Regions from separate parts of the Homo sapiens genome. Here region 1 is linked to region 2. The links are contacts of gene promoters, found by promoter capture Hi-C in human tissues and cell types (Jung and others, 2019). All regions are on one chromosome and are shown on one strand. Each heading gives the region's core, a stretch centred on a gene start or on the middle of the fragment in contact. The rest is flanking DNA. Distances are from core to core; before and after follow the strand shown. Region 1 holds the start of RINL (Ras and Rab interactor like). Region 2 overlaps SAMD4B (sterile alpha motif domain containing 4B).

The links. Contacts are between HindIII fragments. The study calls those that stand out against the background at their distance.
Region 1: a contact is called between the fragment with the promoter of RINL here and a fragment that was not itself captured in region 2, in 1 of the 25 tissues and cell types used here (dorsolateral prefrontal cortex).

What each region holds. Positions count from the first base shown.
Region 1 is chr19:38,873,956-38,880,267 of GRCh38, forward strand. RINL (Ras and Rab interactor like) reads right to left here and starts at 4,320. Exons shown (of 12, transcript NM_001195833.2): 1 at 4,277-4,320; 2 at 2,738-2,826; 3 at 2,376-2,535; 4 at 1-33. The coding sequence starts at 2,787. SIRT2 (sirtuin 2) reads right to left here. Exons shown (of 16, transcript NM_012237.4): 14 at 5,677-5,747; 15 at 5,479-5,545; 16 at 4,605-5,355. The coding sequence ends at 5,200. RefSeq lists a silencer at 4,107-4,156 and enhancers at 4,697-4,816, 4,857-4,956. The HindIII fragment of the contact is 14,230 bases long and covers 1,113-6,312 here.
Region 2 is chr19:39,343,414-39,349,958 of GRCh38, forward strand. All of the region lies in intron 1 of SAMD4B (sterile alpha motif domain containing 4B), which reads left to right. Among named protein-coding and RNA genes, the nearest start is that of SAMD4B, 4.3 kb to the left of the region's middle. The HindIII fragment of the contact is 5,468 bases long and covers 1-5,316 here.

The sequences.
Region 1 (6,312 bases), core at 3,070-5,569, 470 kb before region 2:
CTGGCTGGGGTCACGTCCTGTGACCAAGAAACTCTGGGGGATAGAGACAAAGGCCAGCGTGACAAAGGTGTGCGCAGATGTCTGTTGCTTTTGCCTGACTAGCATCCATTTCCCTTATTTTGGGTTCCACACCCCAAATTTCCTTTAGGGAAACCCTCTCCCTACTTTCAGTCCATGTGTGTTGGGCTGACTTCCCCCAAGCCCTGGCGGGGTGGGCCCATGACCTGATCTAGCCAACAGGATGAGGGTGCTCTCGGCCCACTGTTTGGTTCAGGGAACAGGCATGTGACTCAAGCTCAGCCAATGGACATCTTCCACAGGATTTTTTTTTTTTTGAGACGGAGTCTTGCCCTGTCGCCCAGGCTGGAGTGCAGTGGCACAATCTCTGCCCACTGCAACCTCCGCCTCCCGGGGTCAAGCGATTCTCCTGCCTCAGCCTCCCAAGTAGCTGGGATTACGGGCGACTGCCACCACGCCCGGCTAAGTTTTTGTATTTTTAGCAGAGACAGAGTTTCACCACATTGGCCAGGCTAGTCTTGAACTCCTGACTTCAAGTGATCCGCTCTTCTCAGCCTCTCATAGTGCTGGGATAATAGGCGTGAGCCACTGCGTGCTGGAGCTCTTTTGGAAAGACTTCATTTGTTACACTGGTGTTGCTAAACTGGTGGGATACAGCTCTGAGCTGGGAAGGATGATACCCTCCTGAGGAGGAAGCTGTGGTAGCCCCCGTTTGCTGTCGTCTCCAAACCTATTCCACATTCCTTGCAGAATTCCTTGTTCACGGCATTAATATACCCAGCCATGAGTATGATTGATATATGGATCATGATTGATATAGGTGGTGGTTCTTAGCTCTGGCTGTATACGTCCCAAGAGAGCTGTTAAAAATATTGCTACAGCCGGGCACGGTGGCTCACGCCTGTAATCCCAGCACTTTGGGAGGCCGAGGCGGGTGGATCACCTGAGGGCAGGAGTTCGAGACCACCCTGGCCAACGTGGTGAATCCCAGTCTCTACTAAAAATACAAAAATTAGCCGGGTGTAATGGCGGGCGCCTGTAATCCCAGCTACTCGGGAGGCTGAGGCAGGAGAATCGCTTGAACCCGGGAGGCAGAGGTTGCAGTGAGCCAATATCGTGCCACTGCACTCCAGCTTGGGTGACAGAGGGAGACTCCATCTCAAAAAATAATAATAAAAATAATAAATAAAAAAATTAAAAATATTGCTACCTGGGCCCCATCCTTTTTTTTTTCTTTTTTCTTTTTTTTTTTTTTTTAATAGAGACTGGGCCTTGCTCTGTTGCCCAGGCTGGTCTTGAACTCCTAGGCTTAAGCGAGCCTCCTACCTCAGCCTCCCAAAATGCTGGGATTACAGGCGTGAGTCAGCACACCCGGCCAGCCATCTATATTTTCTGAATCAGTTGTGAAAACCTTTATTTTGGCCGGGGACGGTGGTTCACACCTGTAATCCCAGCACTTTGGGAGGCAGAGGTGGGTGGATCACCTGACGTCAGGAGTTTGAGACCAGCTTGGCCAACATGGTGAAATCCCATCTCTACTAAAAATACAAAAAATTAGCCGGGCGTTGTGGCAGATGCCTGTAATCCCAGCTACTCAGGAGGCTGAGGCAGGAGAATCGCTTGAACCTGGGAGGCGGAAGTTGCAGTGTGCCGAGATCATGCCATTGCACTCCAGCCTGGGCAACAAGAGTGAAACTCTCAAAATTAAAAAAAAAAAGAAAAGAAAACCTTTATTTTTCCTGTAAAATAAACAGATGCAAGTGGTGCCTCTGTTCTTCCTGCCTGGAATGCACGCAGGTGCTTGGGCCTGGGGCAGCCCCCGGGAAGCTGTGAGAGAAGTCCAAGAGAATTATAGCTATGCTGGCCTCAATGTCACTGCACTGCTGATCTAAAGCCAGCAGCTGCCTTTTTGGTTATGTTAGGAAGATAAATGCCTATTTGTTTAAACCGCTGTAGGACAGGTGTTTGTTATATTCAGTCCCAAATATCCAAAATTCCCCGCAGTTGAAAGCAAAGCCAAGAAATGGGATGAAGAGGAATTTATAAGTGTTCTGAAGTTCAGGATCCAGAGCTTCTTGAAATTACATTTTTTTTTTTTTTTTTTTAGACAGGGTCTTGCTCCATCACCCAGGCTCAAGTGAAGTGGCATGATCTCAGCTCACTGCCGCCTTGACCTCCTGAGCTCAAATGATCCTCCCACCTCAGCCTCATGAGTAGCTAGGACTGCAGGCATGAGCCATTGCACCCAGCAATAAATAGCCTTTTTGGTTTGCCCAATTTGTGTCATGTTTGTCACTAGTAACCAGCAGAGTCCTAATCTAGGGTGTCAGGATGGGCCCCCAGCTGTGAGTACTCACCCCTAGTGGCCACAGCCCCACAAGGGCCTCCGCATCCTGGGTATCCAGCTCTGGCACATGCCACACCCCCCATGTCCTCTGCAGGCGAGTAAGTGGCTCTAGGGTGCTGAGGACCCCTAGAGGGGTCCTGTCTGCTTTGTTCACCTGTGGTGGGACCAGCCTGGGATGGACAGTGTCCAGGGAGTCAGGGGTCAGAGGTGGGCAGTGGGACAATGAGGTGAGGTCAAAGGTACAGGAAGGGGCAGGCCCAGGGCAGAGGCTCAGAGATGTGATTCAGGATTCTGTAGTGAGGGAGGTATTGGATGGAAAGGGTTTCTGGATGCAGGGGAAGGAGGGCATAGCCTCAGCCCTAGTAGCCTCACCTCACCCCCTCTGTGGGGACTTCAGGTGCCTTGTCTTCTGGCTGGGCCATCGTCAGGTTGCAGGAAGCCAGTGAGTCATGACCTGGCCTCTGGCAGGGAGAAAGGTAAGACTCAAAGCTGCTCTAGCCCTCGGGTCATGTTCAAGATATTTACAATCAATATGGCAGAGACCCTGACCAATCAGAATGGACCCCAGAGGCCGCTTGCCGTGGCAGGGGTTAATTCTTTATTTTATTTTTGAGACGGAGTCTCACTGTATTGCCCAGACTGCAGTGCAGTGGCACGATCTCAGCTCACTGCAACCTCCGCCTCGTAGGTTCAAGCGATTCTTGTGCCTCAGTCTCCCGAGTAGTTGGGATTACAGGCGTGCACCACCACGCCTGGGTAATTTTTGTATTTTTTAGTAGAGACAAGGTTTTGACGTGTTACCCAGGCTGGTCTCAAACTCCTGACCTCAAGTGATCCCCCCGCCTCGGCCTCCCAAAGTGCTGAGATTACAGGCATGAGCCACCACACCCGGCCGGCAGGGGTTAAATCTTTAGTACCGGATGGTGGGGAATCTGGGGATCCCAGGAGAGAGGCCAGTGTGTCTTGCGGTGTGGGGAGAGGACTCAAAACAATAGCTCTTTACTGAAGTGGTAGGAAATATGTTAAGATTTTTAACAGCCATGGGGGCTGTGTAAATGTGGGCCAGCCCTTGGCAAAACCCAGTCAGCGCCTGGAAAAGTTCTTGGCCCAGAGTAGGCAGTCCCTATATCTGGAAAGGTAATAACATCCCCTCTTCCTCCCTTCCCACACCATGGAGGGGCCACTGAATCTCTTCCCCCAGCATTTTATTATGAAAAATTTCAGACATAGAGAAAAGCTGAAAGAATTGTACAGGAAACATCCCTATGCCCACTACCAAGATTCTACCATGAACATTTTACTCATCTTGCTTTATCACACATCTGTTCCTCTCTCTCTTCATCCACCCATCAGGCCCCAGCTCCTAACCAGGTACAGAGTCCTACGTAGGTTATCACTTAGGGTGGCACTTATCCCAGCAGCAGTCCCAGGAGCAGGAGACCTGGATCGGGGGAGGATCCATCCTCCCTCCCTCCCTCCCTCCCTTCCTTCCTTCCTTCCATCCATCCAGTATTTACTGAATACAGGCTGGAATTAGGTGCCTCTGCCCTGGAGAGAGGGTGATGAACAGGACAGGCTCCTCCCCTCAGGGCCTTCCATTCTTGTTTGGGGCAGGTGTAGCATATGGATAATAGGCAGCTAAACAAATACATTAGGCCATTGACCAGAAGGCCAGGGTGTTATTAGGAAGGAGGGAGGTGGGCAGGGAGGCGCAGGTGCCCTGCCCAGGCAAGAGCAGGAAGGAAGGGAGGGGAGGGGAGGGGAGAGGGAAGCAGATGCCTGCTTGTGTACCGTGGCAGGAGAGGAGGCTGTGGGCAGTGCGTGGCAGGGGTGGGTCAGGGCAGCTGCCTCATACCAAAGGGAGGCAGCAGGGGCTGAAGATGCCAGATGCTCGGTTCCTGGGGGCCCTACCTGTTCTCGGAGGAGAGGCCTGCAGTAGCAGGAAGTGGAGAGAGGAAGCTGAGCAGGCAGGGGGAAGAGGCGGGGCTGGGGTATCTGAAGTCAACTTTCCTCCCTCTTTCTGGGGCCTCAGGCCTTTAGTGACGGGGCTTAGAGGAAGGGACACTGGCAGGCTGGGAGTCCAGGGGTCAGAGCCACGAGGGCCCCCGTGAGGACCCTCTTGTTACCCCTCACTCTGGATCCCGGAGACTTTCTGGTTCCTTAGTGGCCCAAGATCTAACCCCCTCCCTTCAGAGATTTCCCTGGGTGCCCACAGAAAGAAACAGGAGGCCAGACCGGATTGTTAGTTGTTTTTGTTTTTAATTTGTCTCCAATAAGCAATGTCTTCTGCCCATCCAGCATGGGAAGTGGGTCCCACGTGAAGGGGGCCCACCACCCACTTTGGGAGCTGAAGGCAGAGACTCGGGAGCCCTCCCGGCTCAGACTCCCCCTACGCTGGGTGTGGGTTATATTCAGAGGCCCACACCCACACTGGGGTAGGTTAGGTATGGTTTACTTAGCCACAGGCCCCCGGGGGCAGGAGACAGAGTGGGGGCCCGAAGCTCCCTGTCCTGGAAGAGTTAAAAGTTCTGGGGTAGCCCTGGCCCCGTGGGGGCAGTTAGAGATGAGGGAGGTTACTCCTTAGCCCAGGAGTGGTTAGAGACAGTGGGGCTGGTAGAGATGCCTGTTTAAGCCTTGGCCTCTAGGAGGTGTTAGAGATTTGCTGGGGTTGGGGGCCAGGGTTGCTGGGACCCCAGTTTTGGGGAGGGAGCTGTAAGAGATTGGGGGATGTTCTGAGCTCCCCAGACAAGAACTGCTGGTTAAGAGGGGGCCAGGCCCGGTTGGGGCTCAGCTGTCCCTGAGGAGCTCGGCATCCCGCCTGGGAGATGCAGCTGTCACTGGGGTTTCTCCCTCTCTGTTGTCCTGGCCTCGTCCTTGGCAGGTGGCGGGGACTTCTTGGGGGAAGCTGAAGTGCTGGGGTTGGGGACCCCCGCCCCCGACTGGGCATCTATGCTGGCGTGCTCCCTCCGGACAAGGTCCTCCAGCTCCTTCTGCAGGAGCAAAGGTCACAGAAGTCAAAGGTCACTGTGCATCATGGGGTCAGAGGACCCATGGGGTGGGGAGAGGGTCCAGGGATGGGGCTCAGGACAGGCTGGGGTTGCTCAGCTCCTCACCTTCCATCCAAGGAGCTCAGCAAGGGCCAGGCAGCCCTGGTCGCATTCACCCAGCCAGGCCACGTCCCTGCGGTGCAGCAGGAGATCAGAGTTCCCAGGCGGGCTCGCCCCTGCCTGCTCCTCTCATCTGCCTTCGTGCCCCCGCTCCCACCTCACCCTGTCCCTTCCAGGCTGCCCCAACCCCCGGCGGGGCCTCACCTGTAGGCCTTCTTGGAGTCAAAGTCCATGCCTCCTCCGAGGCCCATAATCATCCCCAGGAAAGGGTCCGACTGTCAGGGAGGGGGTGGGTCAGGGGCAGGAGCAGGGAAGGGAGAGCTAAGAGCACAGACCCTGGAGCCAGGTGGCCTGGGTTTGTATCCTAGCTCTGTGACTTTGTTTTTTTTTTGTTGTTGTTTTTTTGGTTTTTTTTGAGACAAAGTTTCACTCTTGTTGCCCAGGCTGGAGTGCAATGATGTGATCTCGGCTCACTGCAACCTCCACCTCCTGGGTTCAAGTGATTCTCCCGCCTCAACCTCCCGAGTAGCCTGGATGACAGGTGCCCAGCACCATGCCCGGCTAATTTTGTATTATTAGTAGAGACGGGGTTTCACCATGTTGGTCAGGCTGGTCTCGAACTCCTGACCTCAGGTGATCCACCCGCCTCGGCCTCCCAAAGTGCTGGAATTACAGGCGTGAGCCATTGCGCCCAGCCAGCTCAGTGACTTTGGTCAAGTGACTTGTCCTCTCTGTGTCTTAGTTTCCTGTAGAATAGGGGTGATCACAAAACCGCGATGGGGTTGTGGCGCCAGTGAGTTCACGCAGGCTAAGACTTGGGACAGTGTCTGCCCACAGCGT
Region 2 (6,545 bases), core at 1,333-3,832:
ACAGACTTTGTGAAATGCCCCCAGATCCCAAAAACTCACCTAGAAGACTCCATCCCCCTCCCCACCGTATTGCAACCATCTCTCATACACACTCCCCCTTCACGTATCCCTCTGGACCTTTCCACAGATCCCAAAAGTCTCCCCCAGAGGCCTCCTGTCTCCCCCTGGTCTCACCACCCTAAAATGCCCTAGAGATCACCCTCATGTAGCCCAGTGATCTTCACCGGGATCCCCTTCCCCACCCCCACTCATTCTAAAAATCTCCAGCAATTGCCTGAAATCTCCAGAGGACTCTCAGCATCATATTCCAAAAGCTTCTTCCAAAATCCCTTTTACATACTCCACATCTTTTCCAGTCCCCCACATCACACGCTCCAAAAATTGTTTAAGGATCCTGAAAACTTTCCTCATGGTTTTTCTCTCAGATCCCGTAGAACTCCCCTTCACTAACACCTCAGAATCCCCCCTTGCAGACCGGTTTTAGAGGAATTTTCTGAAGATCCTCCTCACAACCCCTGTAAGACCGTAAGATTCTCTTGGTGACCCCTCTGATATGCAGGTTTTCAGGACCCCCCCCCCCCACACACACACACAGCTTAGAGACCCCAGCGACCCCCTGGAGCCCTCCTGACGTATGTTCTTGAAATCCCTCCAAGACCTTCCTGACACCACCAGAACCCCTTGAATCAATACTTCTGCCTTACTAAGGGACTTTTCTAGAGATATCCCTCCCTGAACTTGCTCACACAGGTCCCCTAAATCCTCTAGAATCCCTTGAAGAAGACCCTCACACACACCTAATTTTCCCCCAAAATAACCCGAGCTCTTGCTCTGAGAAAGTCCTATAATTCTTTCTGAAAAACCCTCTCCTCTGACACTCTCTCAGAAGACCCCGCCTTCCCCATATACTCTTTTGGAGACTTTACTCAGCTTTCTCCTCAACTGAGATCTCTGAAGAGTTTTTCCTAAAAACATCCCTCTGTCATCCCACTCCAGGACCAGTCTCAGAAGACCACACCTTCCTCAGACACTTTTTAGAGAATTTTCTCCCAAATTGCCCTCCATCAGCCACCCACTCCCAGCGCTTCCTGAGACTTCCTCAGAACTTTCCCTCAGATTCCACTTCTGACATCCCCAAGAAACATTATTTAGGACCCTATCAGATTTACCCACTAACTTTAGAATTGCTATTTACACCCTCTCATTTCCCCATTCTCTTTCCTCTGAAGTCAACTCAGAGACCTTTCTCAGGGGGCCCCCTTTTCCCATTATCCCTTCAGAGGTCCCCAACATTCTCCAGACTCGTTGCCCAAGAGCCTCTATGTTTCCTTGTAAAGATTCTTGAGAGACACCTTTCCCCGCCCCCTTGAAATCCCAGTGCTCCGAGATCTTTCTTTCAGACCATTTTTCTTAGGTGCCATGCTCATAGACCCCTCTTCCCTTCAGAGATCAAGAGACCCTTAACACCCTCCTTAGAGACTTAGGATTCTCCCCATTTCCCTTTCAGAAGCCTTCTTCCTTCTCCCCTTTGAGGACCTCCTCACCAAATAATCCCTTCCCCTATAGCAGTGGTTCTCAGTGTGGTTCCTGGCCCAGCAGCAGCCACATTTGTTAGAAATACACATTCTTGAATCCCACTCAGATCTACTGAAACTGAAAACCTGGGAGCAGGGCCCAGCAATCAAGAGTTTTTAACAAACCCTCCTGGTCATTTTGATGCACACGCAAGTTTGAGAACCTGTGCCCTTTAGGAGGATTTCCTTTTCCTCACTAAAAGCCCCCTGAAAGATGCCTCAGGGTATGCCTCTGTGCCCTACTGCCCACTGCTGCTTTCCTGTTTCCTAGGAATCCCCTTTATGAAGTACCCATCCTCCAGAAAGATTTCTTACCTACCTTGAAAGGATCTTGGCTTCTCCACAAGGTTACTCCATCCTCTGAGCAGTTATTTCCGATTCTACTTTTGAATGGTTTCTTTTCAGATCTTCCTCAGTGCTTTCTCTTTCTGGCTACCCCTCCAGCCCACTACCAGCCTTTGGTGCTTCTTTAAATTGCTGCTTCTTTGAACACACATATCCATCTCTTCTTGTCCATCTGTTTCTTCACATAGGCACCCTCCCCTTGAGGCACCCTCAGGAGGTCTTTTCATTCTGTGTCTTACTGCCAAGACCCCTCCACCTCCATTGTACCTCTTAGAACACCACTCACCTTCAACCTTGTAGATTTTAATGTACTTGTCCACTCACCCTCACTGGACTAGGAACTCTGAAAGTACGGGATGTGTCTTGTTCTTCTCTGAATCCCACAAGGTGGGATCTACTCTTTGTAAGTTATTGGAAATCACTGGAGAATAAGCAGCTCTTCCTTCTGCATTTGGCCAGAAATCTCCAAGTTCCTCAGATCTCACTCCTCATTCAGGTTTAGTACACCTTCCCTGCCCCCTCCTCTCCTCTCACCTCCCTTTTTTTTCTCCACACAGCACCCTTTGCCTTTACTCCTGCCCTACTTGCTCCTGTCTTAGGGACTTTCTTTGTGCTGTTTCCTGATTCTGAGCTACCCCAAGTCCTTTGCCTGGTGACCTGCCTCACCCGTCCTGGTTGGCTTCTCTTAGCAGCCCCTCTCAGCTGCTAAGTCTGGAGCCTCCACAGAGCTCTTGGCATTTTTTCAAGGGATTCTGTTTCTAGGGCCCAGAAGGGGAAACAGAGACCCCAGGGTAAATATTGGGGCCTGCCTTCAGGGAGCTCACAATACCAGTAGGGGGCTTGGGCATGTACAGAGCAGAAAATGAGGTACAAATTATATGCTGTAGAAATTCAGCAGTGAGAGGGAGCCTTTTATTTGGAAAGACTTCACAGAAAAGGTGGTATTTGGGCTGGATAGTGTTCCATGGGAGTTGGGACAATGATGGTGCCCCCAGGCAGAGGAAACAGCTTAAGCAATGGGTCAAAGACAAAGCCTCCTCATCTCTCACCCATGGTATCTCTTCTCTTCACCCAAAAGATAGAGATGAAAGAAGACAGATTTCCTCCATTTGCATTGTATTTGCCAGCTGCACTTTAGTGACCTACAGAGTAATAATAATAATGACCACTGGTTTTTGAATGCTTTCTAACTGCCAGGCACTGTTTAAGTGCTTTACATGTATTCATAGGAGGTAGGAGTTTACCTACCCTATGAGGTAAGTAAACTACCATTATCCTCATTTTGCATATGATGAGATTAAGAACAGGTAGGACTAATAGAGGGTCTGTGGGCACTGTCCATTCCAAGATGGTAGTGCCTTGGGTCAAAAAGTTTGATTTTTAGTTAAGATAGGTTTGGCTGCAATGGGGCAGTAGTTGTTAGGTATGCAGACCCTGGGTCTGGACAGGATTTGTATCCCACATTACCACTCACCAGTTTTGTACCCTAGGACGAGTTACTTCCCTGGTCTTTTAGTTTCCACAGCTAAAAATATGAAGGAAATAATGATACTTTACTTCATAGAATTGTTACGAGGATTAAATAAGTTAATACATGTAAAGTACTTAGAACAATGTCTTGCCCATAATTGCAATGTTAGAAAAACAATAAAATAAAAAAAAAGCTCATATCAGCCAGAACTCTAAAAACATAAAGTGATAGAACCTTAGCTCAAAGTGGTTTAATGAAAAAAGTGGGGGATTAATTGGCTTTTGTTACTGGAAAGTCCAGAGCTAGGTTGGCTTCAGACCTAGCTGCATCCAGGTGTTCAAATAATTTTCTCAGTCATCTCCTCCCATTTCTCCACTGAGTTAGCTTCATCCTCAACAAGCTTCTGCTTTGGATGACAAATATGGTCCTCAGCAGCCCCAGGTTTTAACCCTACCTCCTTGGAAAGCCTTAGTGGAAAGAGAACTCTTTCTTGAGAGTCCCAGTTTGAAAATAGTTTCTTCCTTGAATAGATGTGAGATTATGCCAGAAGATCCTTAGAAACATATTTTGGGTTCTGTACCCTGCAACTCAGTCTCTGGCTTGCTGAGCCAAATAGGCCTGTGATTCCATCCGATGAACTTTCTGAGCAGTGATGGCAATCTCCCTCCCCACTGTCCCCCAGCCGCAGTCATTCTCTGCTCTGTGATTGTTTGGGTCTAGAGAGAGCTTGTGGCTGGTCTGACTCAACCACACTTTGCTTTGGGATATCACGGGTGATATGAGGTGATCAGCCTGGCTTGATGGTGGCCTCAGGGGAGCAGAATCCAGGAGTAATGGCAATACCCTCACCACAGTTTAAGGTTTCCAAGACACAGAACTTTGGAAGAGAGTTAAGTAGGATTGCTGTGAGTGGAGTTTTGTTTTGTTTGTTTTAGTGTAAACTTGTTGAATAGAAGCGGGTTCAGGGCAAGTTACAGAACAGCAGTGTATGGAGTATGCAAGTCTCAAATATCTCCAGCCTGCACTCATTCATTAATGCATGGAGGCACTATTCTAGGTACTGGAGACAGAGCAGTGAATAAAACATTCAAGGTCCTGAAATTCATGGAATTTATATTCTGATGGGGGGAGGAAACAAAAAAATCAGAGTGTGATTCATGCTGTGAAGGAAATAAAACAGTGTGAAAGAGAGGGTGGGAGTGGCCACTGTAGTAGACAGGGGGATCAGAAGAGGCCTCTTTTGGGAGGTGACAGTTGAGCCTGATAACCAGAAAGATGAGAAGGCACCAGTTGTGGGAAGATCTGGGAGTGGAACATTCTAATCTAAGCATTGTTACATGCAGAAAAAGGACCTCTGCAAGGTGGGGAAATTTATCACAGATATTTATTGAGGGCCTGCTATGTACCAGGTGCTATGCTAGGAATTGGAGATGTAGCAATGAATAATATAGCTACAGTCTTCCCTTCTCTCATGGATCTTACAGTCTAGGTGTTTTTGGAAGAGCTGCAGCCTTTGAAGAAACATCTCTTGATGATGATATCATAGACTCCTTCCTACTGGGCAGATGAGGCAGAATGGGGCACAGGTGAGCCCAGATCTGATTGATGAGAAGGAACCAACCTTGTGACGGTCCGGGGAAGAGCATTTCAGGCAGAGAGGTCAGCAGGTGCAAAAGCCCTGCCATATGTTCAGGGAATCGCAAGGACCAGTGTGGCTAAAGCCTAAGTGAGGGAGAGGGGTGAGGGTTGGAAAGGCTGACAGAAGCCAGATTACTTGCAGCCTAAGGGCCACAGTAAGGAGTTTCTATTTTCATTTAAGGGGATTGGGAAACTATTAGAAGGGAGTTTTTAAAAGCAAGACAGCGACATGATCTGATTAATTTTTTTAGAAAGCTCACTTTGGTTTCTGGGAGGAAAACAGAGGGTCAGGACAGAATCAGGAAGGAAAGTTAGGAGACAATCCATTTGTCCAGATGAGAAATGGTGACATGAATGTGGTGGTGGTGGTGGTAGTGAAGATGTAGAGAAGCAGATATATTTTGGGTGTACAGAAAACAGGACTTGATGATGGGATTAGAGAAAGAGAGGAATCTAGAATAATGATAATAGCCAAGTCATTTATGCCTCACAACTCTATGAGAGTAGGCACTATTATTATTTTCTGTCTTCCTTCTCAGTAGGTACTATTATTACACCCACATTACAGATGACAAAACAGGCATGGCAAGGTGAAATCACTTGCCCAAAATTACACAGGTAGTAAGTGGCAGGCTTATATTTCCAACCCGGCAGTCTGGTTCTAGAGCCACTTAGGTTTGGGGAAAGATAAGCAAGGCATGTGTAGCTGACATTAAGAAAAAAGAAATATCAAGACCTAATGACTGGGTCTTTGGGAAATGGAAGAAGTCAAAGATGACTCAAAAAAATGTCTCAGTTGTCCACAGAGAGGTGATGATTGAATCTACAGGAGTTAATTACATGCCTAAGTGAGAGAAAACAAGTGTAAAGAAGGGAAAGGAAGCAGAGAATAAACTTTTCGGGGGGAAGGGGTGTCAAGACATTTAGGAGTGGGAGGAAGAATGCTAGCTTCCTCTCTATTCCAGAGTTTACCGGAGCTCCCCATACTGTACTTATCTTCCAGGAGGCCCTGCCTGGCTTCTCCTCTCCTCTCCCTCCCTTCCCCAGCACCATTCATACAAAAAGCTCATTCTTTGCTAATGCAGTGGTGTACATGTTTTGTGTACGTATTTCAGGAGTTTCTGGAAATAATGGTTGATTCTTATAAGAGAAGTTGTGCTCCCTTGGCTTCTGACAGTCTCTTCTCAGGTTATGAAAGTGAGTTAACCCTAGGTAACTAGCCTGTTACCTTGTTCATGAAGTGTAAGTTCTCAAAGGCCTAGGTCGTGCTGTAAAAAGAACTAGGAATGGGTAAGAAGGCAGATAGGATCCCCTTATTCATCCAGAGATGTTGGTATTAAAGGGCCCTTAGGCCCAACTTTCACCTTGTTGCCCAGGCTGGTCTCAAACTCCTGGGCTCAAGCGATCTGCCCACCTCAGTCTCCCGAAGTGCTGGGATTACAGATGTGAGCCACCATGCCCAGCTTTCTTGCATTGTTAAGAGCAAGCAAGAGCTCTGAAGCCAGACTGCCTGGCCT